5 separate regions of the Homo sapiens genome follow, and regions 2, 3, 4 and 5 are each linked to region 1. Evidence: promoter capture Hi-C in 16 types of primary human blood cells and fetal thymus (Javierre and others, 2016). All regions are on one chromosome and are shown on one strand. Each heading gives the region's core, a stretch centred on a gene start or on the middle of the fragment in contact. The rest is flanking DNA. Distances are from core to core; before and after follow the strand shown. Region 1 holds the start of GTPBP2 (GTP binding protein 2). Region 2 has its middle 21 kb from the start of MRPL14. Region 3 has its middle 16 kb from the start of SCIRT. Region 4 overlaps SCIRT (stem cell inhibitory RNA transcript). Region 5 overlaps SCIRT (stem cell inhibitory RNA transcript).

Evidence for each region. The method cuts DNA at HindIII sites, captures the fragments that hold promoters and counts their contacts. A CHiCAGO score of 5 or more calls a contact.
Region 2: a fragment that was not itself captured here is called in contact with the fragment with the promoter of GTPBP2 in region 1 in 1 of 17 cell types (erythroblasts); the score reaches 6.6 in erythroblasts.
Region 3: a fragment that was not itself captured here is called in contact with the fragment with the promoter of GTPBP2 in region 1 in 8 of 17 cell types (erythroblasts, M1 macrophages, neutrophils and 5 more); the score reaches 9.4 in erythroblasts.
Region 4: a fragment that was not itself captured here is called in contact with the fragment with the promoter of GTPBP2 in region 1 in 4 of 17 cell types (erythroblasts, neutrophils, M2 macrophages and 1 more); the score reaches 7.4 in erythroblasts.
Region 5: a contact is called between a fragment that was not itself captured here and the fragment with the promoter of GTPBP2 in region 1, in 1 of 17 cell types (erythroblasts). The highest score is 6.2, in erythroblasts.

The regions. Positions count from the first base shown.
Region 1 is chr6:43,627,779-43,630,741 of GRCh38, forward strand. It overlaps GTPBP2 (GTP binding protein 2), which reads right to left and starts at 1,486. Exons shown (of 12, transcript NM_019096.5): 1 at 1,199-1,486. The coding sequence starts at 1,384. It also overlaps a transcript of MAD2L1BP not described here. RefSeq lists silencers at 1,196-1,275, 1,296-1,435 and enhancers at 1,496-1,675, 2,296-2,515. The HindIII fragment of the contact is 21,691 bases long and covers 1-2,963 here.
Region 2 is chr6:44,105,151-44,108,113 of GRCh38, forward strand. No RefSeq gene overlaps it. Among named protein-coding and RNA genes, the nearest start is that of MRPL14, 21 kb to the right of the region's middle. RefSeq lists enhancers at 1,257-1,426, 2,264-2,763. The HindIII fragment of the contact is 1,258 bases long and covers 749-2,006 here.
Region 3 is chr6:44,088,827-44,091,789 of GRCh38, forward strand. It overlaps the pseudogene RPL29P16. Among named protein-coding and RNA genes, the nearest start is that of SCIRT, 16 kb to the left of the region's middle. The HindIII fragment of the contact is 1,622 bases long and covers 573-2,194 here.
Region 4 is chr6:44,069,170-44,072,132 of GRCh38, forward strand. All of the region lies in intron 1 of SCIRT (stem cell inhibitory RNA transcript), which reads right to left. Among named protein-coding and RNA genes, the nearest start is that of SCIRT, 4.0 kb to the right of the region's middle. The HindIII fragment of the contact is 6,470 bases long and covers 1-2,963 here.
Region 5 is chr6:44,046,897-44,049,859 of GRCh38, forward strand. The region is part of intron 1 of SCIRT (stem cell inhibitory RNA transcript); the gene reads right to left. Among named protein-coding and RNA genes, the nearest start is that of SCIRT, 26 kb to the right of the region's middle. RefSeq lists an enhancer at 2,242-2,391. The HindIII fragment of the contact is 325 bases long and covers 1,384-1,708 here.

The DNA.
Region 1 (2,963 bases), core at 236-2,735:
CCTATCATTCCATCCCTTCAAGGCTGTCTGGCTCCCAGGCCCTAACAGGTCTTCACTCATAATCTCCACTTCATGGTGTGTTAAGGAGATTATTTTTTTTCCCCATCAATAAAAACCTTTTAATCATTTTTCTGGGGATGGGTGGCTTCAAAAAATGTGGTACAAGAATGACAGTCTAGGGCCCAGACCAATGGTTCCCAAAGTGAGGTCCTGGGACCAGCAGCATTAGTATCACACGGGAACTTATAAGAAATGCAAATTCTCAGGCCCATCCTCACTAGTAAGAAAGAATCAGAAATTCTAGGCTGGGCACGGAGGCTCACGCCTGCAATCCCAGCACTTTGGGAGGCCGAGGCGGGTGGATCACCTGAGGTCAGGAGTTTGAGACCAGCCTGGCCAACATGGTGAAACCCCATCTCTACTAAAAATACAAAAATTATCTGGGCGTGGTGGCGGGCACCTGTAATGCCAGCTACTCGGGAGGCTGCAGCAGAAGAATCGCTTGAGAACCCGGGAGGCCGAGGTTGCAGTGAGCTGAGATAGCCCTACAGCACTCCAGCCTGGGTAACAGAGACTCCGTCTCAAAAAAAATAAATAAATAAATAATAAAAAAATAAAATTGGCCAGGCGTTGGGGGCCAGCAATCCGGGTGATTCGATACATGCCAAAGTTTGATAACCACTGGCTTAGGCTGTGTGTGTGTGTGTGTGTGTGTGTGTGTGTGTGTAGTGAACATACTGCTCTTTTCCCGAGTACTGTGTGTGTGTCCGTGTGGAACATATTGCTCTTTTCCCGGGTACTCCCCTTCTCCCTGTGGAACAAGTTTAGAAGAAGTGGTGGTTACTGTCTGCCTCTCGTCCCAGGATGCAGTCTCTCTTGCCCTATGGCGGCACACGCAGTTGGTCGGGGTGCTCTTCCTGGGATCCCCTTTCTCTACTTCTCTCCTGGGGTAATCTAGATCAGAAGGGGGAGTCCTCCCTCTCCACTCTTCCTCCCTGAGGTCCTGTCACCTGAGAGTCCAGTCTCTGCCCTTCCTCCCTGGGGTCCCGGGACCTGAAAGAGGTGTTCTCCTCCCGTGCCCCTCCTCCCTGGGGTCTCGACACCGGAAGGGGAGATTAATTATCTGGGTCCCGCCTCCCTAGAGTCCTGGGCCGGAAAGAGTGGCTTCTTCCCGCCCTACCACTTCTCAGGTGCTCACCTCGGGGGGCAAATACGGGGGGTTGTTGGCTTTGCCCCCTCTGTTCCTTCCGTTCTTCTTCTTTCCCTTTGGCCCCCCGCAGCCGCTGCTGCTGCCGGCCCCCCTAGCCTTGAGGGTTCCGCCCACGGCCGGGCCCCCTCCGGGCCGGCAGCAGCCGCCGAACAGCTCCGATACCCGCGAGTCCATCCGCCGCTGCCGCCAGCCCCCCGCCCGGCCCCTCCCCCGACCGCCGCCGCCGTCGCCGCCGCCCTTACTGCCACTGCCGTGTCCGGCCGGCCTGAGCAGAGTGGGGTGGGGCTCTGCACAAGCTACGCCCCCCACCTCCCTGGCCTCCGGGTCGCGTCAGAAACAGCCGCGGGGCACCACGGGATATAGAGTCCCCAGGCCTGGGAATTCACTTAAATGACACGTCGCCGCCCTACAACTCCCAGGAGGCATCGCGGCGCAAGTGGCCGCGGGAGTCGTCGGAGGCGTGGGGAAGGAGCGCGCCTTGGCGCGCAAAGGCTTAAGGGAGCTGTAGTCTGACTTCCAGTCCTCGCGCTATGTTCTTTTTCTAGGACTTGGGGGGAATTTAGAGCCTCGAGGCCTGGGGTGGGGACGCGAGGACACCAGCGTAGAAGAGCTTACATCAGAATCGAGCTTTGTGGGCGCTCCGGGATTTGGCCCTTTAGCGCGGATCCTAGACAACAGGTTTTGGACCTCGAGAGCTGCAGAACTGAGGCTACTGGTGCCGCCAGCCTGCTGGCTCCGCCTCTGCCTCAGTTTCTTCCCCTATGGCCCGCGTGCCGCTGGGGTGAGTCAGGGCGAACGCCAGGGCGGAGGCGGATGGTGATTAGCCAAATTACGGCTGTTATTGTTGGGATGATTATGCTACCTTTACATAGTAGTCACTGCTTTATTACCAGGCTGGCACCGTCCAGGGGCTGGTTTTAATAACCGGAGGCACCGCGGTGGCCCCGACACGAGACCCGAACCCGTAAACCAGCTTCCTCCCCGAAGGCTGCAAGCATACCCAAAGCGAGTATTCCTCCTCCCCTTTGTTTTGAAGCAGAACCAATCGGGAAGAACTGAGTTTGGTTTTAAACGGCCAAGACTGTAGGAGGGGCCTGGCCCCTACTTCGGGCGGGGCTAGGGCTCGGGTTACACCAACCACCACGAGGGCGGGGCAGTGGCCGGGAATAGAAACTTGGCCTAGGGCCACAGGGGATTTTTGGCTTTTGACTCTCTTGTGAAGCAATCTCCAGCTCTTTAGTGCTGTTGCACTCTACAGAGTACATACATTCAGCGACATAAGCCAGTGCACAGAACACAGAAAGGCAGGGTGGAAAAGCAGTTATGTTGCTGAGCTGCGAGTCAGGACGCTAGGGCTCAATTCACAGCCGCATGGCTGTCTCATGACTCAGACCACTCACAGTGTGTCCACTTCTCCCCTCTTCTCGAACTGCGAGGTGCTCATACACGGTCAAGAAATTAAACAACTCAGCCGGGTGCGGTGCCTCACGCCTGTAAATCACAGCACTTTGGGAGGCCAAGGAGTGTGCGGATCACCTGAAGTCAGGTGTTCGAGACCAGCCTGGCCAACACAGCGAAACCCCGTCTCTACTAAAAATACAAAAATTAGCTGGGCGTGGTGGCGCATGCCTGTAATCCCGGCTGCTCGCGAGGCTGAGGCAGGAGAATCGCTTGAACCCGGGAGGCGGAGGTTGCAGTGACCCGAGATCACGCCATTGCACTCCAGCCTGGGCAACAGAGCGAGACTCCAACT
Region 2 (2,963 bases), core at 128-2,627, 480 kb after region 1:
GAATATGCAAAGTGTCCAGCACAAAACTGGCATAAAGCAAGCCCTCAATAAATTGGTTTCTCTTGTCTGTTCCTACTACCATATGCCACAGACCAAGGCTGAAAGAGATGTGGTTTCTACCTCGGTGGGCAGCCAGATTGTCGCAAGAAGTTGGCAGCATGCCAAGACCAGGTCAGAGCCCTGGATTGAAATGTGAAGTTCCAGAAGGAAAAGGAACAGCACTGCTGCTGTAGGAGAATGGACAGGACTTCGTAAAAAACAAAAATGAGGCTAGGCGCGGTGGCTCACGCCTGTAATCCTAGCACTTTGGGAGGCCAAGGCAGGTGGATCACCTGAGGTCTGGAGTTTGAGAGCAGCATGACCAACATGGAGAAACCCCGTCTCTACTAAAAATACAAAATTAGCCAGGTGTGGTGGCGCATGCCTGTAATCCCAGCTACTCGGGAGGCTGAGGCAGGGGAATCACTTGAACCCGGGAGGTGGAGGTTGTGGTGAGCCGAGATCGTGCCACTGCACTCCAGCCTGGGCAACAAGAGTGAAACTCCGTCTCCAAAAAAAAAAGAAAAGAGAAAAGTAGGACAAACCCAAAAGTGACTCCAAAGTTGTAAGATTTGTAAGGCAGGAAGGTTGCTGGTGCCACTGCTAAGACAGTCCTGAGAGGTAAGGGCAGAGGCAGAAACCAAAGCTCTGAGAAATGTGACCAGCTAAAGTGACCTGAGATGCGAGCCAGTGGCTGAGCCCAAGCTAAAGCTTTGGCCTCAACCCCCCACCCAGAGCACTGCACATGCAATCATGTGGACCAGTTCTCCCCACCTCACTCTGTGAGCCAAATGGCCCCAATCCTCCGATGGCCTTGACTGCTGGCCTCAACCCTTCAGTAAACTGCAGCCTTTCTACATTTTCCAACACCTACTCCAGCTTTAGGGCCCAAATCATGGCAATCAGCAGATAAACAGTGATCAAGTGCATATCTCCATGGATTGCAATGTGGCTTCATTCCTGTAATTCTACACCACTATTTATGAACCATTGGCTCACTATGACTCCCAGATGCTCTCTGTCCTCCTTATACACAACAGGTCCCACCTAGTCTCACCCTTAAGACTGTCAACCCTTGGGGCCAGGGAGTTCTTTGTTGTGCGGGCAGTCCTGCACATTGTAGCATGGCCAGCAGCATCCCTGGACTCTACCCACTAGATGCTGCCCCCAGTTGTGACAACCAACACTATCTCCAGACATTGCCAAATGTCCCCAGCTGAGAACCACTGCCTTATCTCTTGTACAGCCTTTTTTTTCCCCCTAAACATGAAGAGTAAAAATACGTGCCAGCTTAAGCAGTTATAGACATCATAGAATATCTTAAACTGGAGTCATAAACTGGAGTTTAATGGGGAAACAGAAAACACTGGGCATCTGGCCAGTGTGGGTGAAGCCCTTGGGATAAGGATCTATGTGGAGACAGGCAACTCTGTCCACCATGGGTCCTTGTAGACACTCCATAATGTCTTAATTTTTACCAACCCCTATACTAGATGTCTATATGCAGACTCCTAAATTGAGAATACAAATTTTAACTTTTCAGCTCTCATATTTTTGTGCATCTACTAAGCATCAGCGATAGAACTATGAACAAGACAGAGACTGCTCCTGAGCCCATGGGCTTGCCCAGTTTCAAAGTGCTGTAAGAAGTGCTATGCTGAGGACCAACAGGGCTCAGCCTGGGCCCCACAGAGGAAGGAGAACACTGGCCCAACTCTACCACTTACTTACTGTTTCCTATCTTTAAAACAGGGACACCAGCCCTACCTACTACTCAGAGTTGTCACCAAGGCCTGGAGTCACAGAAGTTCTAGGCTGGAAGAAACTTTCTAGGACTAAAAGGTGAAGGCACTGCAAACTGGAAAGTGCTGCATAGAGGTAGAGGTCTGCCAGGGGGGTTCAGAAATCACATGGATCCCAGTGAGGAAGCACCTACTCAGAAGAAAAAGCAGTGAGGTGGGCTCTGAAGCTTTCAGACCCAGTGAGGAATGCAGGGGTCGGAGAGGTTTCAGACCACAGCTCACAAACATCCTGCCTCCCTCTGACCCATCAGCACCACATACTCCAACCACCTGGTCCACATGCCTTGGGAAGTCCTGCTCCTCAGCGCAGCTGAAATTCTCTCAACTCCTCACAAGCAATGCTGCTTCCTGCCCCTCAGGCGGGACAGGTATGGCCCCATTCAAAAGTATTTTTCGGGCCAGGCATGGTGGCTCACGCCTGTAATCCCAGCATTTTGGGAGGCCAAGGTAGGCAGATCACTTGAGATCAGGAGTTTGAGACCAGCCTGACCAACATGTTGAAACCCCATCTCAGCCAGGCACGGTGGCTCACGCCTGTAATCCCAGCACTTTGGGAGGCCGAGGCGGGTGGATCACAAGGTCAGGAGATCGAGACCATCCTGGCTAACACGGTGAAACCCCGTCTCTACTAAAAAAACACAAAAAATTAGCTGGGCGTGGTGACGAGCACCTGTAGTCCCAGCTACTCAGGAGGCTGAGGCAGGAGAATGGTGTGAACCTGGGAGGCGGAGCTTGCAGTGAGCCAAGATAGTGCCACTGCACTCCAGCCTGGGCGAAAGAGCAAAACTCCATCTCAAAAAAAAAAAAAAGAAACCCCATCTCTACTAATAACACAAAAATTAGCTGGGCATGGTGGTGGGCGCCTGTAATCCCAACTACTTGGGAGGCTGAGGCAGGAGAATCACTTGAACCTGGGAGGTGGAGGTTACAGTGACCTAAGATCACGCCATTGCACTCCAGCCTGGGCAACAGAGTGAAACGGTGTCTTATGTCACAGTTAGATGCAGTGAAAAGAGCTGGACTGGGCATGAGAAAACTCAAGTTCTAGTCCCAAATCTGTTACTCTCATATGTGAAATGTGGTTGGCTCCTCAGCTCCCCAAGTCGACATGGTCATCATGAA
Region 3 (2,963 bases), core at 134-2,633, 460 kb after region 1:
AGTAGTCATGAAACACCCTTACAACCAGTCACAGCAAGGCCCTGGAGAATCTCTTTGGTCTACTGAATGCAAGCAGCTGGGGCATCCGCTCCCAGCTGAAACATGCTGAAAGAGGAGTGGATAAGAGCACAGGTCTCAGGGTGGGTGCTGCCACTTCCAAGCTGTAAAACCCTGGACCACAGATTAGTTCACCTCTCTGGGCCTCAGTTTTCCCATCCGTAAAGTGGGGTGATAATAGCATCTCCTTGCAAAGTTGTTAGAAGTTTGTTTTTTGTTTTTTGTTTTGCTTTTTTTTTTGTTTTCCTGCCTCAGGTTTATTTGTACAAATGGCAGAGGAGGACACCAGCCCCATGCAGATGGCAGCCCAGGGGGGTCATACTAGTCCTTCTGTCCTTATGTTGGCGGACAGAGATCTCTACTCTGAAACCTTTGTAGGGGCCTGGACAGCTTTGGGAGCCTGAGCTAGAACTGAAGCTGGAGCTGCAGCCTGGGCCTTGGTTTGGTCCTTGGCCTTGGCCTTTGGCCGGCACAGCCTGAGCCCCTTGGCAATGCAGGCACGAGCACGCTTCCCAAGCTTGGGGTGGGCAATGTAGGCAAGTCAATCGAGCTTGCGGCTGACACCCTTTGGGATCTTGGGCTTAACCTCCTTGGGCTTTCGAGGACCTTGATAGCCTCAGCACGTGCCCTCATGGCCTCGGCATTGTTGGCCTGCATCTTTTTTAGGCCCTTCTTGTTGTGCTTCTTGGCAAGGTGCATGCTCCTTAGGAACTTGAGGTCCACCCCATTAAGACATTTGTATCTTTGTGATCGGGGTTTCCTGATGCCATTTCTGTGCCATTTTGGGGACTGGTTGTGTGTGTTGTGGTTCTTGACGTTGCCATGTCTGCACCTTAAGCCGCAGCTGCTAAAGCACCTAGAACCGGAAAAAGCTAGAAAGTTTAAATGAACTAATGTATGTAAAGCATTCAGCCTAGGGCCTGGCACATAGAAGGTGCACAACATGGGCTATTAGCATTACTACTGTGATCAGGACCACCCCAACCAAGTCATGCGCTCTTTTGGGGGAAGGAACTGCATCTTATTTATCTTTGTCTATTTGAGCATTTGCCATGGGCTTGGCACACAGTAGGTGCTCCATGTCTTAGATCAGGTTCCCCAGAAGCAGATCCTGAGATGAGGATTCATAGCTAAATGATTTGGGAGTGCTCCCAGGGAAACTGGAGAGGGACTCGGGGAGCAAGACAAGAAAGTAAGAGGCCAAGAAGGGTGCAGATTCAGGCAAAATTCTGCAGAGGGTGACTTCTGCCTGATCTCGCAGGGGAACTTGGGAGTGTAAATTACACCTCAGGGTTGTCCTCGCCCCAGGCAAGGGAGCTGGGACCTCACTCTCCTGCACCTCAGTCATTGGCTAAGGGCCACCATGGAGGGGATAGATTTCCAGGCACTTCCCATCATGCTCCAGTAGCAGAGGGCAGTGCTGAGAGACCACCTAGAAGGGAAGGCACCCAGGGGCCAGGAGGGTCCATGAAAATGGAAAAGGGCTGGAGGGGACCTGCCACCTTCCATAAATGTCATCCCAGCCTCTGAAAGATCACAGTTCCCCAGGAAGTCCAGGACAGTGGAGGCAGAGTGGGCAGAGGGGACTGCCAGGCCGTGGGAGCAGCTCTAACTTACGCGTTGGTCAGAGCCGGGAGGTCCTTTGAGTGGCCAGCCTCCCTACCAGCTGACAGGGGCAGGCCTGGGACTGCCTGAGTTGGTCTTAAGAGCCCCTACTATGTGCCTGGCGTAGATGCTGAGTTCTTCACATGATTTTCTCATTTAACCCTCACACCACCCCTAGACAGATGACTCTGAGGCATGGAGGCATAGCATAGAGAGGCCTTCCTGTGACCCCCCAAAGAGTGAAGGGCAAAGATGATTGATGTCATTAAGAAATGCAAATAAAAACCACAATGAGCTATCATTTCACACCCACTAGGGTGGTTATAATAAAAAATCTTTAATGAAATATAAGTGTTGGTGAAGATGTGGAGAAATGAGATCCCTCACACATTGCTAGTGGGAATGTAAAAGGGTACAGCTGCCGTGGAAGTTTGGCAGTTCCACCTTAAGCTAAACACAGAAGCACGACAGGACCCTGAAATTCCACTCTTAGTATAGACTAAAACAAATTAAATACACTTGTTCAGACAAAAGCTTGCACAAGAATGTTCACAGCAGCACTATTCACAACCCCAACAGTGGAAACAACCCCTATGTCCACCACTGATGAATGGATAAACAAAATGTGGGTATATCCATACAATGGAATATTATTCAGTCTCATAAAAAGAAACAAAATACCGACACATGCTACAACATGGATGAACCTTGAAAACATTATGCTGAGTAGAAGAAGCCAGACACAAAAGGCCATATAGTGTACAATCCCATTTATAGGAAATGTTCAGAATGGGGAGATTTTTAGAGACAGAATGCAGATTGCTGGCTGCCAGGGGCTGGGAGTCAGGGACTGAGGAGCGGTGTGGAACTGGGGGGTGGTGACAGTCAAGAAGCATTTTCTTTTTTTTTCTTTTCTTTTCTTTTTTTTTTTGAGATAGGGTCTCACTCTGTCACCCAGGTTGGAGTACAGTGGCATGATCTCCGCTCACCACAGCCTCAACCTCCTGAGCTCAAGCAGTCCTCCCACCTCAGCCTCCCAAGTAGCTAACTACATGGGCACACCATCACAAGAACTCATTTTTGTATTTTTTTTTTGTAGATACAGGGTCTCCCCATGTTGCCCAGGCTGGTTTTGAACTCCTGGGCTCAAGCAATCCACCCGCCTCAGCCTCCCAAAGTGTTGGGATTACAGGCATGAGCCACCGTGCCCAGCCTGCACAGCATTTTCAATGTACTAAATGCTGCTAAATTATACACTTTTTAAGGCCAGGTGCAGGGCTCACGCCTGTAATCCCAGAACT
Region 4 (2,963 bases), core at 216-2,715, 440 kb after region 1:
CATCAACACCATCCATCTCCAGAATTCTTTTCATTTTACAAAACAGAAACTCTGCTCATTGAACACTAACTCCCCATCTCTCCAGCCCCTGGCAACCACCATTCTACTTTCTGTCTCTATGAATCTAACTACCTTAGTTACCTCATTAAAGTGGAATTATACAATATTTGTCCTTTTGTGATTTGCTGATTTCACTTAGCACAATGTCCTTAAAGTTCATCCCTGTTACAGCATGTGTCACAATTTTCTTCCTTTTTAAGGCTTAATAATATTCCATTGTATGTATGTACCACATTTTCTTTCTCCATTTGGGTAGCTTTTTTTATTTATTAACTACTTTTTTTTTTTTTTTTTTGAGACGGAGTCTCGCTCTGTCACCCGGGCTGGAGCACAGTGGCTTGATCCCGGCTTACTGCAACCTCCGCTACCCAGGTTCAAGCGATTCTCCTGCCTCAGTCTCCAGAGTTAACTACTTTTTAAAAAAACCAAAGTAATATATTCTCGTGGCAAAAAGTCTGAACAGTTCAGAAACACATAAAGTGAAAAGTGGACTTTTCCATCCCTTCTCACTCTGGTCATGGAAAGCCCTTTCTGGTGACTCTGAAATTTTAGAGGCAGAAGGGCTAACTGGTTTTTATCCATTTTTTACACATATAGTGACATACTCCTCATCAGTACTTCTCAAACACGAGTATGCATCAGAATCATACAGAGAACATGTTAAAACCACAGACTGCTGGGCTCCAGCCCTAGTGTTTCTGATCCCGTAGTTCTACGGTGGCCCAAGATTCCAGGTTTCTTTTTTGTTTGTTTTTTCAGACAGGGTCTCTCTCTGTCACCTGGGCTGGAGTGCAGTGGCACCATCTTGGCTCCCTGAAACCTCCACCTCTCAGGCTCAAGCGATCCTCCTGCCTCAGCATCCCTAGTAGCTGGGACTACAGGCTAATTTTTTGTAGAGAGGTTTTGCCATGCTGCCCAGGCTGGTCTTGAACTCCTGGGCTCAAGCAATCCTTCTGCCTTGGCCTCCCAAAGTGCTGGGATTACAGGCATGAGCCACTGCAACTGGCTGAAGATTCTGGATTTCTAATAGGCTCCATGCCCATGCTGGCAGAGGGCACACCCTTCATGGAGTAGCACCACCCAAGGAATGTCTTGCCACTTGCTTTTCTACTTAGTGAATATCAACACACAACCTCAACCTCACTCTTTTCAACCACTGCATACTATTGGTGTTTGGAGGCATCATAACATATCCAATCCGTGCCCTATTAATGGACTTAATGTTGCTTCCAGTTTTTCAGGTTTGGAAGCAAAACTGCAATGAACACACTTGTATGTATACTTTGAACACTTGTGACATTTATAACAGTGCATCTGATAAATTCCTAGATATGGAACCCTCGAGTCCATGGTTTGTGAATTAATTCTTCTCATGTATACTGCCAATCCCCTTCACAGGTGCAACTGTCCTCCCCCCCAGCTCTGAGGATGTCTGTGTCCACACAGTGAGGGGTTGCCCATTTTAGTTGTTGTCAATCAAATTGGCGAAAAGAGAATCTTCTCATGTCTTCATTTTGATTTCTTCTATTTTGACTGAGGGTGAGCATTTTCACCTGCTTGTTAACCATTAGTATCCCCTTACCGGTTTATGTGCTTTGCCCATTTTTCTATTCGTTTTTATTTTCCTTATTGACTTGTAAAAACTCATCGGTCATCTATGTTAAAAATATTTTTTCCAGACGGTTGTCTTTAGAATTCAGGATATTACATTAAAAACACATTTTTTTTTCAGAGATGGAGTCTCACTGTGGTGCCCAGGCTGGCCTCAAATTCCTGGGCTCAAGTTATCCTCCCACCTCAGCCTCCCAAGGAGCTGGGACTACAGGCATGTAACACAACACCCTACGTCATATTTTAATACAGCCAATTTTAAAAAATTCTTTCCCTTTGTGACTCCTAGGTTTTGTGTCAAACTTTCCCCAATCCAAGAACATACACTTTTAGACTTTCAGATGTTTTCTTCTAGTAATTTTATGGTTTCCTTTTTACATTTAAATCTTCACTCCATCGGGATTTATTTCAGAATAAGAGATGAAGTGGGGAGCTGGATTTCTTTTTTTTCCCCCTTAACAGCTAACCAGTTGTCCAATTTGATTGAATAATTCATCTTTTCTCCTCTGATCTAAAATGTCATTTTATCATATATTTAATTTCCATTTGTTCACGGGTGTGTGTCTGGCCTCTACTCTGCTCCTTTGATCTGCCTGTCTGTTCTTGTGCCAGTACCCAACTATTTTATTATTGGAGCTTTCTACAACATTTTAGTAGCACTAGTCGTCCCTTATAATACTTCTTTTTCAGGATTTTCCAAGCTCTTTTTGCATGTTTATTTCTCCAGATGAACTTTAATATAATTTGTCAAGTTCAAAAGATCTCGTTGTTTTTCACATCTTCCAACAGATGTGATTTTCGGACATCTCAGCCCACAGCCAAACAGAAACAAGTTGAGAATAGGGTGGGTTTGGTGGTCTGCCCTGGAGGCAGGCAAAGTGATGGTAACAGAAGTGATAGTTTATACGGAGAGAGTTGATGAAGTGATAAAGTACTATAAAAGTAGACACAAGAACTACGAAAATGTAGCCTTCATGGAATGAGCCGTTGGTGTGGGGCCAAAAAAGGCCTTGGATTTTCACTGTATTACAACCAGGATACTGATGGACCCTTGTAACCACAACCCTGAGTCATGAAGACTCACATGTTCTGTAACCTCTGATTAAAAGCCCGGAAAGCGTGTAATATCCACTAGTGATTCCTATCCAAAATATCTCTTTTTAAGGTTTCAGATATTAATGTCTGGAAAACTAGTATGAAATGGTTCATTCTTGGATGGTGACATAAACATGACATGTTACTGGCCTCTTTACAGTTTTCTCAAAGCCCACCTTCAAATTCCAAGGAGCTGC
Region 5 (2,963 bases), core at 296-2,795, 420 kb after region 1:
AGGACTTTGTAGGGTAACAGCAAGAGGATCACCATGCTGTCCTCACAGGGCTTGCATCTGGGAGGGGCTCTTCCCTGTCTTGGAACTGAGCCTGGACAACTCAGGTGCCCTCCAACCTGTTCTCTACCTGAGCCAAAGAGGTTTTTTCCAAAACACAAATCGGATCCCATCCAGCCCTTGCTTAAAACCTTTCAAACGTTTCCCAGTGCCCTCCGGATAATTCCTTAATGCAGCACAACATGCAAGATCTGCCATTGCACCTCGCCTCCTCTTCCCCTCCCCATGTCATGATCCTCACCCATTGAAAGGAATGCCACCCCTCTCCCAGTTCTGGGATGCTCACCCCCACTCCCAGCTCACTCATCATCCTGCAGATCTCAGCTCCACCTCTCCTGGAAAGTCTTCCTAGATCCACCCCCGGGTCTCAAGCTGAAGCCTCCTCTCTGCTCTAGGGGACACTGTATCTCTTCTGTCCTGGCACTGATCACAGTGTGTTGAAACAGTCTGTTTGCTCCTCAGCCTTCCCATCTCAACCAGGAGCTCAGGAGGGAAGGGATACATCTGTCTTACTCATCATTAAGCTCCTAGCCCCAAGCACAGCACCTGGCACAGAGGAGGTGCTGGATAAACTTGAATAAATGAATCGATCAATCAGTCAACAGCCCATCACTACCCAGGGCCATTTTGCACACCTTCCAGGGCTGGCCTGAGGCAAGCATGCCCACACCCCTCTGCTCATGCCCCTCAACCCACTGCTTCATATGGCACGGTAAGTCTGGCTCCCCACCCTCTGGAAAGAATCCTCTGTATAGACCCCTTCCCCTAACCAAGCCCCACCACCTTCAGGGAAGGCTGAGCTCTAATCCAGGACACCACTCCAGGAAGTCCCTGACTGCCTCCACAACCTCACCTGCTCCAAACTCCTACAAAGCCTTTCACTGGGGCCACCCTTTGGCTTATATCACAATGTACTTTTTTGGGTTCACTGTCCGTTCCCCTAAGGCTCTTGGCCTCCCATGAAGGCTGGGGCCCTGGCAGACAGAACCAGCAGGTGCTACCTGGGCTGCACTCTGAGGCAGGCCCTGTGCTGGGTCCTCTAGAAAGATAGGCCAGCCTGGCCCTGCTGAGAACTCGGGATGGAGCAGGCTCGGGAAGCCAGGGGTTCTACTGTTTCCTTTCTCACCCTAGGCCCTGCTGGGGACCAGGACCTGGAAATGAACATCAGAGGAGGAAGGCCTCAGTGTGGAAGGGTATCAGCCAGCAGGCAGAATCCAAGGAGAGGGAAGAGCTAAGATTGGGCCATCAGAAGCCAGACTCCCAGTCCTGGGGCAGGAACCCAGGGGGGTCAGGGAACAGTCCCAGCAGAAGAGAAGGTGAATGGGAAGCTTCCCTCCATCTGCCTTGGCTGCTGCTCAGCTGGGAGAGGCTTCTACAGAGGTGAAGGACTCACTAAAAGCGTAGGGCTATGTGTATGTCTTCCCCAAACCCCTGCAGCAGTTCACCAGCCTCTTGGCAGTGGTGCAGCCAACCCCCTGCCCAAATCACCAATGCTCTCGGTACCAATCAGCAGAGGTTAGATGCGTGCTGGCCTAGTGCGTGCTGGCCCCTGGCAATGGGCCAGAAGTACAGAAGATTTGGTGCTGGCGTGACTGGAAGGCTCTCTGCACAGACATCCTTACGACCCCCTCCACACACAAACACATTTTCAAGCTTAAGGATGGGGCTTGAGAAGGTGGTCCATTTCCCCTGGGCAGCCATGAGATGGGGACCTATGTCCCTCACTCACACTGGGCCATCCATGCTGATGCTGGCCAGGAGACCCACGTTAGCTTCTGACTTTGCCATCAACCTGCTAGGTAACCTCAGATAAGCCCCATCCTCCTCTCTGTAAAGTGGGTGCAATAATCCCTGCTCAACTCACCCCACAGTGTTGCCATAATGATCAGATGAGGTTGTGCCCATGAAAATGCTCAGCGAACTTTAGAATCTACAAAATGAAATGTTTCTGATTATCATTCTTGTTGTTATTATCATCTAAGGAAACTAACTCTGCTGCCTTATTGAAATCAGCAGTTTCATCTCCCTTCGAGATCCCCTTGCTCAGCAACCATCACGGCTCCCCTTTGCCTACAGGACAAAGGCCACATTCTGTGGTCTAGATGTTCATCTGGCCTAAGCCTACTTTCCAGTTTTATCTCCCTTGCCTTTTAGTCTCACTGGTCCTTTTGGAGTTCCCCCAGCACATTTTTTGTCTTTCTGCCTCCATGCCTTTGTCCATGCTGTTCCCCCTCCTGGAACGCCCTCCCCCATTGCCACCTATGGAATTTAACTCCATCTTTCAAGACCAAACTGTGGCACCAGCTCTTCCATGAAGCCTCTCTCTCAGCTCAGCCAGAAGTGCTCTCTCCTTCTCTGTAAGGGACGTGGTTTTCATCAAATGCCATGACACTTTCTGGCACAGAGTTAGTGCTCACAAAATGAAAGTTGCAATGACCACGCCCTGCACTCTAAACACTGACTCATTTCATCCTTACTACAACCCCATGGTTGTGTACTATTAGCATCCCCATTTTCCAGATAGAAAAAATCAAGGTGTAGAAAGGCTAAATACCTTGCCCAAAAGAGCATCAGACCAGGGCTTGAACCTGATCAGCTGACTTTGGAACTCGTATGTGCCTCTAATCATGAGGAACTGCACCATGTCTATTTATTCAGTTTTGCTGTCCCCTGCCCAGCCCAGGGCCTGGCTTGGAGCAGGTGCTCAGTAAATATTTGCTGGCTTCAGCACTCATTCCTCAAGCCTCCTGTGCACAGTCATCTCACTGTCCTGGGAGTCTCTTAAAGGCAAGGCCCAGTGGCTGGCTCAGAGGGGTCCCAGGAAACGTGGCCAAATGGCTCCACTCACCTGCATATCCATACATGTCCTCATGCATCAGAGTGCCAGACTAAGGCTGGAAGAGATA